Regions from separate parts of the Homo sapiens genome. Here region 1 is linked to region 2. Evidence: promoter capture Hi-C in 16 types of primary human blood cells and fetal thymus (Javierre and others, 2016). All regions are on one chromosome and are shown on one strand. Each heading gives the region's core, a stretch centred on a gene start or on the middle of the fragment in contact. The rest is flanking DNA. Distances are from core to core; before and after follow the strand shown. Region 1 holds the start of PRPF19 (pre-mRNA processing factor 19). Region 2 overlaps CPSF7 (cleavage and polyadenylation specific factor 7).

Region 1 (4,813 bases), core at 1,465-3,964, 520 kb after region 2:
AGGACTTTCTAACCTTCTCTTGCCCCCTGACCCCCACCCTAAGTACAGGGAGAAGCTCTCTCTAGAAGTTCCCTTATCTGACTGAGAAAATTTCTTTCAGAAGAAATGCAATTGTCTCAAATCTCCCTCCACAGGAAACTCATCAAATAACCAGGAAAGATTAACCACTGGAGAAGAATAAAAACTAAAAGTCACCAACTCACCACTACACCTAGAGAGACTTTTAATCTATTCTTCTGATGGGAGCTCTAACAGATTACCTGAGAGACCTTATGTGCATAATAAGACAACCTTTGTTCACAATGGAGTTCTGCCCCTCACCTTCCCACAATTTGTTGCCACCTCCTCCAGAGCTCATAAGAACTTTGTCCCAAGGCATTGTTTGTTCTTGGGGCTCATTCATTTCCCCTAAAAATTATTTGCTAGCCCTCCCTAAAAATTATTTGCTAGCCCTCAAAATTGCCTACATTTCCCCCATCTCCGTCTTTCCTGGGTGCCATTTAAGTAAGCATCAGCCACCTGTTCCTTCTTTGAGCCTCATATTTTGTATTACTCCTGTGCACACTCACACACTAATACACTTGTATGCCTTTTCTCCTGTTATTCTGTCGATTGTCAGTTAATTTCAGCAAATCTTTAGAGGGCAGAGGGGAAACTTTTTTGCTCCATACCCTCATTCAGTTCTCAGCAAAAAAATCAGCTCCTCAGTGATGCACTCTCTAAGTGCCCTGCCTCAAGTAGCCGTTCCTCCAATCCCCAGCACCTCTGTCTACCTTGCTCTGATTTGTTGTATTCATAGCACTTACTACTCTGGAATTTTCTTCTTAAGTGTTGATTGTCTCTGTGCTCCCACCACCCACAGTAGAGTGTAAGCTCCAAGACAGCAGAAACTGTGTCTTTCTTGTTGACCTTTTCTATCTCCAGTTTTTACAATAGGGCTTGGCACATAGGAAGCACCCAATCAATATTTGTTGGATGAATGAAATGCCTGGGGAATAACATGAATAGATATTTCGTTCAAAGTGGATCACTGTCTGCTCTGTGGAAAGTAGATTAGGAGGAGGAGGCCAGGCTGGAAGCAAGGAACAAGTGGGAAGTTACTTTGTTGGTGCAAGACAGAGATGAGATGCCCTTTTGCATATTAACTCTTCATAAGAGTTCAGTGAGTTAGTTCTACCCTTGTCATCACTCCCTCTGTTTTACAGATGAGGAAACTAAGGCATAGAGAAGTTCATACTGCCAATCACCTGAGTGGTGCTAGGATTTGAGCACACAGTCTGACTTCAGAGTCCATGCTCTTGGCCACTATGCCATATTGCCTTTTGTACCTGTAACTTTTATTTTTCTCTCCAAGCTTTTGCTTACGTTGTTTCTTCTTCCGGAATGCCTTTCGTTCTCCTTCTCCTCTGAATACTGCCCACCTGTCAAAGTCCCTCTCACTCACATCCTGTTCATCCTGCCCTTTTGTCTTGATACCTTACAGTCCACACCACGTCTTTTGCATGATTCCTGAGAGTATCTTATCTTACAGATATCCACAAAGAATCATACACTATCTGAGCTGGAAGAGAAATAGAAAATACAAAATCCAAAATACAAAATAAAGAAATTTATAGGAGGCCATTGGTTTGGACTGAGCTCTTCTGCTAGGCCTAACAGACCAAGCTAAAAAGAGTTAGTCCTGCTGAAGCTCCACGCCAATAAGCTGAAACGAAGATCTTTACGACCTTCTGAGTGTGTATGTGTGTGTGTGTGTGTGTGTGTGTGTGTGTGTGTGTAGGGGGGAGCTAAATTCCCAAACAGGCAAGTTTTAGGTGGCATGATAAGTCCCCTCCACTTTAACCTTTACAAGAAAAGTAATTTTGAAATTACCAAATGACCAATCCGCTTTTTGTTCTCTGTTCCTGTTTTCCTCAGTCCTTTTCTGTCTATAAAACCAAGTTCTCCTGTTCAGCTCATTGGAACAACCATTATATTTTATAGTATGAGGCACTGCCCAATTCTATAGAATCGCACCTTAAGTCCCAGCTACTCCGGAGGCTGAGGCAGAAGGATCACTTGAGGCCAGGAGTTCCAGGATGCACCTGTGATAGCCATGATTGCTATGACCGCACCTGTGAATAGCCACTGCCTTCCAGCCTGGGCAACATTGCCAGAGTCCGTCTCTTAAGAAAAAAAAAATCTTTGAACTAAGTTTGTTGTGATTTTGTCTTTTGACAAAGAAGAAAGGGCAATGTGAATTGCCCCAAATCACAGAGCGAAATGGTAGTAGTCAGGACCAAAACACTTTCTTAGCCGTTTTCTTAGTTCTTGTACCCATCTGTTTCTGTATTTTCTTCACCAGGCCATCCAGCAGTGTCTCTTAAAGGGTAGCCCGAGAAACAACTGACTTAGAAAAGCGTGGGGCACAGTCTGTCTACGCAGACCCGAGGAATCTGCATTTTAACAAACTCACTGGGAAATTCTCGCGCACGCCAAGGTTTCAAAGACCAGGGTCCCGTGGCACAGTGCCGCACAGTTGTCAAAACAAGTGCTGTCCAATTGTTTTGGTTTTAAATTCTCACTGCGTCATGGGAAATGTAGTTTCGAGCCTCCTCTCTCCCGACGCCCCAGCCAATCCTCCGGCGCTTTACGGAACGAGCCGAGTCAATCCGGAAATAACCGAGTGTTCGTGGCGGGCCCTTTCCTGCCCGGCTGCATTCTGGGAAAGGGCAATTTCCGTTAGGTGCTGAAGGCTGTGGCGCGCGGCTGTCCCCATTCCCACGTGAAGCGCTACGCTAGCATCGCTCGGCTGGCGGCTCCCAGCTCGCCGCGGAGCAGTCCCGGCAGCAGCGGGGGACCGGAAGTGGCTCGCGGAGGCTCAGAAGCTAGTCCCGGAGCCCGGCGTGTGGCGCCTCGGAGCACGGTGACGGCGCCATGTCCCTAATCTGCTCCAGTGAGTGTTGGCTGCGGCCAAGCGCGGGTCTCAGGAGGCCAGAGAGCGGCGCGGGAGCGTGTGCGGTCCGCTGCGGCGCCCGGGCCGGGGTGGAGGCGGGAATGGGGCGCTCCGGAGGCCGAGCGGCGGCCTGTCAGCACCGGAGCCCCCCCCGTCGGAGCGGGGTGCATTTGCGCAGTGCCCCGCAGTTTACATAGTGCCTGAGGTTTATTGTCGCAGACATTACTGAGGCCGGTCGCCTCATTCTACAGAGTGGAAACAGGTCTGGACAGAGAGAGCTGGTGCAAGGGAAGCAGCCTTAATGTAGGAGTCAGAAAACTCGAGGTCTTGTCCAGGGTCCGCCTCCCATTGGCTTTATGAATTGGCTCAAGGCTCTGGGCCTCGGTTTCCCCATCTGCAAAATCGAGAGCATTGCAGTGGATGTTTTGCGAGGCCTCGCTCGGATAGTCGGAGCTTTTGCAATTTGCAAAGGTCACATGATGAGTTAGAGGTAGAGGCAAGGCTGGCAGCCAGGTATCTGGCTCCCAGCCTTACACTGTATGACTAATAAAAACAGCGCACATTTATAAGCCCTTATTGGTTTACAACGCGCTTCCAAGTCTATGATCTCATTTTATCCTCACAAGAATTCCCTAAAGGAGAAATAAAGATCCTGGTTTTGCAGATGAGGATGCAAGGCGCAGGAAGAGCGGGGCTTATCTAAGGATGCGTAGCTAGTCAGTGGCAGAGCTGGGTGACGTAGTTAGGTGACACGGATCTTGGACCCTGAATCCATGCTTTTTTCATACCTTCCACTATCTTTCCCTTTGATATTTTATCATGACGTACAGACATTTTCCTTTCCCTTTTCGTTGTTTCATCAGATTACTCGTTTCCCCTCCCTTTTGCTATTCACTTCCTTCTCTTCTCAGAACCTGTACATTGATCCAAAGAGGGGGAAGAAGGAAGGGAAATGATGGAAAAGGAATCCCTCACTTTGAAGAAATTACAGCTCGCAAAGTACCTTCACATTTATTGTTTCCTTCCAATCTTCGGGAAGCTCTCTTTTACGTTCCCCAGCACCATCCTTCCTGGCATGGTTCACTCATTTGTTAGATGTTTACCGAGTGCCCTGGGGGCATCTGCATTGTACTGGAAGTGAGAGACCAGCTGTAATCCTTATCCTCAAGGGGTGCACAGTCTACGCAGGCAAGAGTGTAAATGATACCTCTATTGCGGGTTGTTGTGAAGATGAATTACTGTACTGTATGCCTAGAATTGTGCTTGGCACATAGAAATGTGCCATGCAAATGTGCCATGTAAATATTTTTAAATATTTTTATTGTAGCGATTGCCACTTTGCTCCTTGGAATCTTCCAGGTGATAAGTGTCTGTACGCTAATCAGTTGACTGGTAGCTGGTAGACTCAATAGCTTCAGGATGGGGACTGGTCACCTAGGAAGACTAAAGGGTATTAGAAGGTTGGGATTTTCAGTCCTACCCCCCATTTACCTGGGGAAATGAGAGGAACTGAAGTCGTCACTAGTGACCAGTGATTTATTGAATCATGCCTTTGTAATGAAGTTTTCATAAAAATACAAAAGGACAGGATTCAAAGAGCTTCTGTATAGCAGAACATGTGGGGGTTCCTGGAGGGTGGGGTGCCCAGGGAAGGCATGGGAAGCTCTGTACTTCTCCCATACCTCATCCTATGCTCCTCTTCATCTGTATCCTTTGTAATATCCTTTACAATAAACTGGTAAACATAAGTGTTTCCCACAATTGTTTGAGTCACTGTTGCAAATTAATTGAACCCAAAAAGGAGGTCATGGGAACCCTGATTTACAGCTGGTAGATCAGAAGAACAGGTCAAACAACCTGGGGCTTGCGATTGGCATC
Region 2 (4,441 bases), core at 744-3,243:
GGGATTACAGGCGTGAGCCACCGTGCATGGCGAAAAAATTTTTTAGTTTTAAATAAGTCCAATAATTATGGATAAAAGAGAAAAGTTCTAGATGTTAATTTAGTTACAAAATCATTGTTTTCCTGAGTTTTCCATATTCATTTGAATCAGACTTTTAATACCTTAAAAAAAAAAACACACAGTCTTGCTGTGTTGCCTAGGCTGGTCTCTCAACTCCTGAGCTCAAGCGATTCTCCCACTTCAGCCTCCCAAACTGTTGGGATTATAGGTGTGAGCCACTCTGCCCAGTTCAGACTTTTTGCAGATTATGTTTTTCCCCCACCAAGATAACAAGAGCGGTCCTTAGTTCTTCTCTTTTTTTTTTTTTTTTTTTTTTTTTTGAGACAGAGTCTCTCTTTGTCGCCAGGCTGGAGAGCAGTGGCACCATCTTGGCTCGCTGCAACCTCCTTTTCCCAGGTTCAAATGATTCTCCTGCCTCAGCCTCCTGAGTAGATGGGACTACAGGCGCGCGCACCGCCATGCCCAGCTAATTTTTGTATTTTTAGTAGAGACGGGGTTTCACCATGTTGGCCAGGATGGTCTCAATCTCTTGACCTTGTGATCTGCCCACCTCGGCCTCCCAAAGTGCTGGGATTACAGGCGTGAGCCGCCGTACCCAGCCACCTTTGTTATTAATGAAAAGCTTTTCCCCTTCTAATTTCTTATCTGTGGATTGATAATAGTGCCATTCATTTCACTTTGAGAAATACGCAGAACTCATTGTCCAGTGGTCACTGCTTTGTTAGAGTATAAGTTATTGGCCTCAATAGTTTGTTCTCTGGTCTCCTCAGTTAAAAAGGACTTTTTTATGGGTCTAAGACAGGCTAAAGGTAGTATGTGGACTTTAATAGATACATATATCCAACGGGCAATATTTGACACTAGGCAAGCTGAAGAAAGTGTGAATTTTGAATATCTTATGTTTTGTGGAAGGTGAGGGATGAGTGCTTCCCCCCCACACACATATCAATTAGTTATTTTTGACAAAGTTAGTGTTAGTGTCATCTGGAAGCTACAGAAATTATTTAAAAAACAAAAAAACAAAAAAACTTTGGCTAGAATTGTTAGAAGCTGGCTTAGTCTGAAGGCACCCAGTACAAATTGTGTTTTAGAATGTTTTAAGAATGTTACTGATTTCGCCCCAAGCTGGCCCATGCACAGGAAGCCCTTCATGTGCACTTTGCTCCTCAAGGAAAATTAATATTTTTCCTAGATGGAACCCTATGGTGCTTATTCCCTGATCTCTTAGAGCATTTGCTGCAAAAGCCTGTTTTTGCCAGAGCTACTTTATTCCTGTAACACAGGGAGTCCTGGGATTCACATTGGCTCTCTTGGGCCAGGGAGAACTCTGGAAAGGTGACTGAGATCAGTTGCTCTGCTGGGAGTTTTGGCTTTTCATACTGAGACAGGCTTTGCACAGTGTCCAGTTCTCTTCCTTATGTCCATCAATAAGTATTTATTTATTGAGCTACTTGTGTTTGCTAAGCACTGTGCCAGGACTAGTGAGGTAAAAGGAAAAAAAAGTGGGTCCCTGTACTCAAAACAGATTCCACTCCTGGTGGGTAGGGGTGGTGGACAACGACAATGTACAGTGAAGGACAAGGAGGGTGTGAAGTGGGAACTGTGGAAATGGTCATTATAAAGCCAAAATTTTTGATTAAGCCTTGGTTACAATTAAAAGAAACAATGGTATCAAGTTGGTTGCTCTGAGAAAAATAAATCCTAGGCTAGTTACTTCCCTCAGTGGGATATGAGGAAGAAGAGGGTGGAGGTTAGGAACACTGAGCAGACAAGTGGAGAAGATCTTATTTAAATTGAAAATCACACATGTTCTCTTTTGTTTACAGGGAAGCAGGAAGTTTCATGAGACAGTCACAGTTCTTTCTGTGCCATTAAACACAAAATTCTTTGAGATAGTTATTCAGTATTAAATATATGTTTCATGTTTAATCTCCCTGGAATGAAACTTTGAACATCAGTGCATGTAAAATGTACTTTTCACTTAATTTGTAGAATTTGATTTTACTTTAATCTATTACTGCATAAATCCGCTGAGAAAAATCTCCGGCCCTTAACTGTGTTTCTGTCTTACTAGCTGAACAAGTAAAATGAATTGTGATGCTGGGGGATTAAAATCCAAACAATTTGATACCTTGTTTCTTCAGTAGAACCCTCAACAGACCTGCCCTGTGCAGTTCCCACCAGCTTCTTTGAACTGAGGCTCTGTGGCCCAGAGAGACCATTTAAATCTTGTGATAATTTTGTATTCATTCAATCCTTTTGTTTCTAAAAGTGGTAGCCATACCAAGATTCTCCAGGATCTAGTCTATCCTATTCTTAAGGGATCTTAAAACAGTGGATTGGTTGCCTAAGCATATAGTACGAAGGGTTTCCTGGTGATGCATTTGGTCTCTGAGCTGTCCAAATCTGCATGTTAGTCCACTACTCAATTTTCAGTGATCATTTTTACATTACAAATTTTAGACACATATACCTGAATTACAGATACTGCATGGAAGGGAATCTCAGTTTGGTTCCATTCGATTATCCAAGATGATGTGTTTCCTTATTCTGTTTACGTGTCATTTGAAAATCCTTGATTTAAAAAAAAAGAAGGCTGGGTGCAGTGGCTTACGCCTGTAATCCCAGCACTTTGAGAGGCTGAGGTGGGAGGATCACCTGAGGTCCGGAGTTAGAGACCAGCCTGGCCAACATGGTGAAACCCCATCTCTACTAAAAATACAAAAATTAGCTGGGTGTGGTGGTGCACACCTGTAATTCCAGCTGCTCGGGAGGCTGAGGCAGGAGAATCACTTGAACCCAGGAGGCGGAGGTTGCAGTGAGCCAAGATTGCGCCACTGCACTTCAACCTGGGTGACAAAGTGAGACTCTATCTCAGAAAAAAAGAAGAATCTTGGTGTGAAGTAGTGCTTTCTAAGGATTTGAGCATTGGATGGGATCAAGTGATGTATATAAATCCTTTCTCTACCTTGAACCACAGGAGCAACTCACCATACCTGGTACATGAATAGAAGAGTGATTTGTCTATAGAGTTGGGATAGTTTGAGACGTAACAGCTATGAAATATTTTATAGTGATTACTTACACACAAAATGTTTTCCCACTCATTAGCCCTAGCTGACCTCACCTTACTTTATTATCCACCCTGTCCTCTCCAGTGTTAGCTTCTCTCCTCATTCTTTACATGCTGACCCTTTTTATGCACAATCCTTTTTGATGGATTTGACTACATGGAACAAGCTTCCTGTGCTTATTTGCCTCACTAATTTCTTGTTGTTAAGTTGCCCCCTAAAAGTTTACTGTCTCTTGATATTCTTTTTCTAACGTTTTTACAAGGGTTAAGCCCTCCTGGTGGGTTTCTTAGAGTGTTTTAATATTTGAAATTATTTATATGCTTTAGGAAGTAGAATCCTTCCCCCTTCTCTATCAGAACAACCCAAGATTATTCTCTTAGTGTGCATTTTCTTCCACTGTACTTCAGATAAACTGAAAAACTGAAAGATTGTTTCCAAAGGTTCTTATAATACAAGGACTGGTCTAAGAGTAAATTTTTTAGTGAGTCGTCTTCAGATCACTTCAGAATTAGCAGTTATTGCCGTGATATTGGAGGGAGAAAGTTAAGGGAGCCGCCTGTCTTTAGTTGCCTTGGAGAAACTGTTTCTTCAGGGTACTAGACAAGTTTCCCAACTTAGGTGCCTCCTTTATTCCCTTTTTAAAAGAATAGCAATATGAAACTGCCGTAGCATCCTTAAAACACTGAACTACTTGCTGTCTCTGTCATTTTGGCAGCATTATCTTTAGCATTGTTTGAATGTTTTGTCTAATTCTTGTAATAAAAATAAAATGCTTGTCTAATCCTTAAAAAGATTTCTCTGAGGCTAGGCACGGTGGCTCACGCCTGTAATCCTAGCACTTTGGGAGGCCGAGGTGGGCAGATCACGAGATGAAGGGTTTGAGACCAGCCTGACCAACATGGTGAAACCCCATCTCTACTAAAAATACAAAAATTAGCTGGGCATGGTGGTGTGTGCCTGTAATCCCAGCTACTCAGGAGGCTGAGGCAGGAGAATCACTTGAACCCAAGAGGCAGAGGTTGCAGTGAGCTGAGATGGCGCCACTGCACTCCAGCCTGGGCAATGGAGCAAGACTGTGTCTCAAAAAAAAAAAAAAAAAAAAAGATTTCTCTGAGGTAATTACATTGTAGAATCCTGAACCCTTTTTTTTTTTTTTTTTTTTTTTTTGATATGGGGTCTCACTCTGTTGCCCAGGCTGGCTCACTGCAACCTCAACCTCCCGGGCTCGAGTGATCCTTCTGCCTCTCGAGTAGCTGGGACTATAGATGTGTGCCACCATGCCCAACTAATTTTTGTATTTATTGTAG

What was found. Contacts are between HindIII fragments. The CHiCAGO score rates a contact against its expected background, and 5 or more counts as called.
Region 1: the fragment with the promoter of PRPF19 here is called in contact with a fragment that was not itself captured in region 2 in 4 of 17 cell types (naive CD8 T cells, naive CD4 T cells, total CD8 T cells and 1 more); the score reaches 7.2 in naive CD8 T cells.

The regions. Positions count from the first base shown.
Region 1 is chr11:60,904,486-60,909,298 of GRCh38, reverse strand. PRPF19 (pre-mRNA processing factor 19) reads left to right here and starts at 2,714. Exons shown (of 16, transcript NM_014502.5): 1 at 2,714-2,935. The coding sequence starts at 2,917. It overlaps PRPF19-DT (PRPF19 divergent transcript), which reads right to left and starts at 2,520. Exons shown (of 2, transcript NR_186697.1): 1 at 2,456-2,520. RefSeq lists enhancers at 2,262-2,381, 2,495-3,082 and a silencer at 3,022-3,121. The HindIII fragment of the contact is 4,469 bases long and covers 1,357-4,813 here.
Region 2 is chr11:61,422,966-61,427,406 of GRCh38, reverse strand. All of the region lies in intron 2 of CPSF7 (cleavage and polyadenylation specific factor 7), which reads left to right. Among named protein-coding and RNA genes, the nearest start is that of CPSF7, 4.8 kb to the left of the region's middle. The HindIII fragment of the contact is 2,618 bases long and covers 685-3,302 here.